Linked DNA regions of Homo sapiens: region 1 is linked to region 2. The links are contacts of gene promoters, found by promoter capture Hi-C in human tissues and cell types (Jung and others, 2019). All regions are on one chromosome and are shown on one strand. The core of a region is centred on a gene start or on the middle of the fragment in contact, and the rest is flanking DNA. Distances in the headings are between cores, read along the strand shown. Region 1 has its middle 13 kb from the start of MSTO1. Region 2 holds the start of FDPS (farnesyl diphosphate synthase).

Evidence for each region. The method cuts DNA at HindIII sites, captures the fragments that hold promoters and counts their contacts. A contact is called where the count stands out against the background at its distance.
Region 1: a fragment that was not itself captured here is called in contact with the fragment with the promoter of FDPS in region 2 in 1 of the 25 tissues and cell types used here (heart left ventricle).

The regions. Positions count from the first base shown.
Region 1 is chr1:155,621,856-155,624,555 of GRCh38, forward strand. It overlaps the pseudogene LOC100419798. Among named protein-coding and RNA genes, the nearest start is that of MSTO1, 13 kb to the left of the region's middle. The HindIII fragment of the contact is 8,414 bases long and covers 1-2,700 here.
Region 2 is chr1:155,307,436-155,310,135 of GRCh38, forward strand. It overlaps FDPS (farnesyl diphosphate synthase), which reads left to right and starts at 1,431. Exons shown (of 11, transcript NM_002004.4): 1 at 1,431-1,530; 2 at 2,354-2,530; 3 at 2,608-2,700. The coding sequence starts at 2,355. It also overlaps a transcript of PKLR not described here. RefSeq lists enhancers at 189-258, 1,161-1,290, 1,621-1,790. The HindIII fragment of the contact is 6,116 bases long and covers 1-2,700 here.

The DNA of each region.
Region 1 (2,700 bases), core at 136-2,635, 310 kb after region 2:
AGGATGACTCAAAAATTTGAAAAAGCAAAATGCTTTGATTAGCCTTTACTATTACATAAAAATCCTGTTCAAGAGAGAAAGCCAAATTTTACCCTTGCATAAGTCTGCTATTAATGTTAACCCCAATTTTAATGAAATCCTATAGACAATTCTATTTAATCTTTTTTTTTTTTTTTTTTTTTGGCAGTGGCAAGATTTATTAAAGTGAAAGTAAAGTTTCCACATGGTGGAAGGGGACCTGAAAGGGCTGCCATTTTTGGCTTGGGTGTCTTATACTTATATCCCCTTATGACCCCTCCCCTTTTTCTTTTTCTGTCCTATAGAATTAGCTTATTTTCTATCCACTTGTGGGTAGGTGGGCATGATTGGTTAAAAACATCAGGCTGCAGCTAGAGCTTAAACTCCCTATATGATTGGTTGAAGGTTCAATCCCTTAGTTTGCAGCTATAACTCATTTTGGCTTAGGGGAAAGTTCCCTTAGGGAAGTCCCTATTGACCCAGGAAGTCCAGCCAACTTAGCCACTTAGTCCCTCAGTCCCTCCTCTCAAAAGGAAAGCCCAAGTGCCGTTGGGAAGTTGGGCAACAATCATTCTAGCTACTTCCTGCTGAGCTGGGGTGTAGAAGGGGCTCTGCAGTTGAGCCTTCCTCAGGAGGGGAGTCTTCAGTGTCATGGTGCAAGAACAGATTGGTGGGTCAGTCTAGGGGTCCTCGATAGCAGGTGCTAGTGGTGGTCATTTGGGGCTCCATCTGTAGAATCATTTGCAGTTTCATGGATTCTATTCTGGAAGAGACAAATTTTACAAGGAGGTTAAAAATGCAGGGTCCAGAGATAAGCAACATCACAATAGCCACCAAGGGTCCCAAGAAGGGGAGAAACCAGGGCATCCATTGGTTGACAATACTCCAAAGTCCTGTGTCTTGGAGCTCTTGTGCCTGGCACTGTATCTGGTCTCGAAGCTCCTTAACCTTTTTTGGTGACAATTCTGTATTGATTAACAAAATAGTAACACTCTTCTCCTAGAAAAAGACAGGTTCCACTTCTTTCAGCTGTTAATAAATTTAAGGCTTTCCAATTCTGGAGGGCTACTGCTGCTAAAGAGTTAAGCTAGCTTTGTAAGGTGACCAGTGAATCTGCAACTCGTTCCATGTCATCATTTAACTCTTGTGATAATTTGTAATATGTTGGGGTGATCAGACCCAACACCAGGCTGTGGGGGCTACGAAGTCCGGCGGAGTCAAAGGAATGAGATAAGTTAAGAGTGCAAGAAGTGGGACCAGGGGGTCAATGCTAGTATGGAGGCTGTGAAGGCCCTGAGCTCTTGAAGCCTGCACTATTTATTGGTGATCAAACAAAGAAGCAGGTGGTGAGGATGTGGGGGTTCAAAGAAAGCAGTGTATCAAGTGTGTGATCTACAGCTGTGACAGTTTAGCATTTTCTTTGAAGCATATGGAACATGTTCTGCTACTTGAGATAATGGGGAACATGTTCTTCTAGTTTAAGACACAATCGATCTATGAGCCTGGGAGGGCTAGAAACAAGGAGCCAGCAAATCTAGACACATTCCAGAGGCCACAAGGGGTTTTATGCCCTGAGCCCTGGATTCCATTCAAGCCATGAGGGGTTTTATGCCCTTGGCTTAGAGTGTGGTGCAGCAGGGCAGCCTTTCACCCTTTGGCACAGAGCTTGGTGTTCCAAAGGCCACAAGGGGTTTTAGACCCTGGACCCTGGACCCTGGACCTGTTCTAAGACTCTTTTACATTATATCAGACATGCAAGCCCTGCCTCAGCTTTTTCCCCAACACTCAGCTTTTTTCCCAACACTCAGCTTTTCCCCAACAGTAAGAGAATTGGGTGGAGGTGGTAATGCCTCCAATGCCAGTTCCTAGACCTCCTAGTATCCTAGCCCTGAAAATGAATGGCAGGATAGTCGAGGTATGCTGAGATGCTGGGTTTGACAGATCTTTAAAGGCAAATAAAAATTGCGAGTTAGGATGCAGAGGGATGCAGAAGAAAGCGTCCATAAGATCTAGGACTGTAAACCATTCTGCTTCCTCTGGTATCTGGGAGAGTAGAGTATAAGGATTAGGTACAACTGGATTGTTGGGAACAAGCCCCTCCAAATCTGGTCATAAACTGGCCCCAAAACTGGCCATAAACAAAATATCTGCAGCACTGTGACATGTTCATGATGGCAATAAAGCCCATGCTGGAAGGTTGTGGGTTTACCGGAATGAGGGCAAGGAATACCTGGCCCACCCAGGGCAGAAAACCACTTAAAGGCATTCTTAAGCCACAAACAATAGCATGAGTGATCTGTGCCTTAAGGACATGCTCCTGCTGCAGTTAACTAGCCCAACCTATTCCTTTAATTTGGCACATCCCTTCATTTCCCATAAGGGATACTTTTAGTTAATTTAATATCTGTAGAAACAATGCTGATGACTGGCTTGCTGTTAATAAATACGTGGGTAAATCTCTGTTCAGGGCTCTCAGCTCTGAAGGCTGTGAGACCCCTGATTTCCCACTTCACACCTCTATATTCTGTATGTGTGTCTTTAATTCCTCTAGTGCTGCTGGGTTAGGGTCTCCCTGACCAAGCTGGTCCTGGCACTGGATACAGGGGAACAACTGCCTCAATGATAATTCAGAGGTCTTTCACTAACCTCCACTGTCTGTTGGGTTTTTGTATGCCTAGAATA
Region 2 (2,700 bases), core at 181-2,680:
GCATTCTAAGTCACAGGATGAGATAGGAGATTGGCTCAAGATACAGGTCATAAAGACCTTGCTGATAAAACAGATTGCAGTAAAGAAACTGGCCAAAACCTACCAAAACCAAGATGGCAACAAGAGTGACCTCTGGTGGTCTTCAACGCTATACTCCTACCACATGCTGTGTCGACATCAGGGAGTTAACTGTATATGGTCTACAAAGCAGAGGCATGAATAATCCAACCCTTGTTTAGCTTATAATCAATAAATAACTGCCTGGGCCAAGTGGCTCGTACTTGTAATCCCAGCACTTTCAGAGGTCGAGGTGGCTGGATCACTTGAGGTCAGGAGTTCGAGACCAGGCTGGCCAATCTGGAGAAACCCCCTCTCTACTAAAAACACAAAAATTAGCTGGGCATGCTGGCAGGCACCTGTAATCCAGGAGAATCACTTGAACCCGGGAAGCGAGGTTGCAGCCTCCCACGTAGCTGGAATTAAGGCGCGGACCAGCACACCTGGGTAATTTTTGTATTTTTAGTAGAGAAGGGGTTTTGCCATGTTGACCAGGCTGGTCTCAGATTCCTGACCGCAGGTGATCCGCCCAAAGTGCTGGAATTACAAGTGTGAGACTCATCTTTTTTTTTTTTTTTTTTTGAGACGGAGTCTTGCTCTGTCTCCCCAGCTAGAGTGCAGTGGTTCGCTGGATCTCAGCTCACTGCAACCTCTGCCTTACGAGTTCAAGCGATTCTCCCGCCTCAGCCCTCCTGAGTGGCTGGGATTACAGGCGCGCGCCACCACGCCCGACTAATTTTTTTTTTTTGTATTTTTAGTAGAGACGGGGTTTCACCACATTGGTCAGGCTGGTCTCGAACTCCTGACCTCATGATCCACCCGCCTCGGCCTCCCAAAGTGCTGGGATTACAGGCGTGAGCCACCGTGCCCGGCCCAAGACTCATCTTTCTTAAGCCCTTAAAGCACTTTGCACACATTACCTCATGGTATTACCACCCTCATTCAACAGATGAGGAAAGCTAGTTTCAAGCAAGTTCACTGAGGATCAGAGACGTTAAATGATTTGCCTAAAGTTAGAGAACTAATAAGTGAGAAAGCTAGTCCTGCTGCGTTTTACTAACGTGCCAATCAGCTGCCCAGGAAGATAATGAAAACTTGAGTAAGACAGGCAGCCAAAGCCACAGCGGGGACGTTCCCAGCCTGGCTCGCTTCCGGCACTGACGCCTCCAGCCGCGACCTCTAGACTTCAGCCCTTCCATTGGTCGTCCGTCACAGTGCCACAGTGCGCCATGCTCACACGACGGCCAGCAGCCAATCAGCGCGGCTCATCTTCGCCCAGCCAGGACACGCAGGATCGCGTTATCTGTCCCTCCCGCGGGCACATTGGGAGTTGTAGTCTAATTATATATTTCCGCCCTTAGTGTGGGGAGAGCGGGAACTACTCGACCCACAGAGCCGATCGCGGAGCGGATTCTGCTTTTAGGAGTACCCGCCAACAAGCGGGACCGAGCAGGAATCCGTATCTGGGAACAGGTGAGAGAGGATGTGTGCTGGGCCTTGGAGGAAGGGGGCCGAGACCGGGCCTTACTTCTGTAACGATACTGTGAGGCATCGGAAGGCCAGCCTGTTGTGTCCGTTTTGAAGGTCGGTGGGCTAGACTGGCTGGCCTTCTAGGGGTGTGGAGACTTCCCAACTCTGCCCTTGTGCTTTCCTGGAATCCCCAATATGCCCGGACCCCGGTTTACTCCTTTGCTGCGAGCCCTTCTCTCCCGTCCAGAGTTGCTCCGAGCCTATCTGCTCAGTCCTAGCGATTCCTGTGGGGCTTGGGACGCGCGGTTCAAGCACCCCGGACCATATGGATGCAGCACCCATGGGTTCTCGCTCCAATGCTTCTTTCCTCCTTGGGGCGTAACTCAGACCCTGGGCACCCCTCTCCACTGCCCAGGGGAGACCTGGGTTCTAGATTTGGCTCTGCCTCTACTATCTTCCTACCTCCTAGAGCCTCAGTTTGGCTTGTGTAAAATAGGATGACTTAAGGGTCCTTTCAGCCCCTAATCCTGGGGTACTTTACTCTGTACCGCCTCCTTACCCAGCCTTGTGCACGCCATCTTGAAGGCACTGAGTTCTAGCCTGTTTATTGTAAGTGGTGATTAGTTGGGTCTCAGTCACCCAGCCATACTTTTTTGTTCCCTGCGTATCCTTCCTGTAATTGTCCCCAAGCACATTCCACAAGAGGGAGGGGCACTCTGGGCTAAGGCTGGGGTGGGAGTTATCTGGGGAGCTGCCACCATGCCTCTGCCTTTGGTGCTTGCCCCTGCAGGGAGTGCTTAGTGCCCCCTCCCTATGCCACTCCCAGGATGCCCCTGTCCCGCTGGTTGAGATCTGTGGGGGTCTTCCTGCTGCCAGCCCCCTACTGGGCACCCCGGGAGAGGTGGCTGGGTTCCCTACGGCGGCCCTCCCTGGTGCACGGGTACCCAGTCCTGGCCTGGCACAGTGCCCGCTGCTGGTGCCAAGCGTGGACAGAGGAACCTCGGTGAGTGTGGTTGGGGTGAGGGGCCTTGGGGAGGGGAGCAGCTGATCAGGTTTCTGACTTGTTTTTCTTCTACTTAGAGCCCTTTGCTCCTCCCTCAGAATGAACGGAGACCAGAATTCAGATGTTTATGCCCAAGAAAAGCAGGATTTCGTTCAGCACTTCTCCCAGAT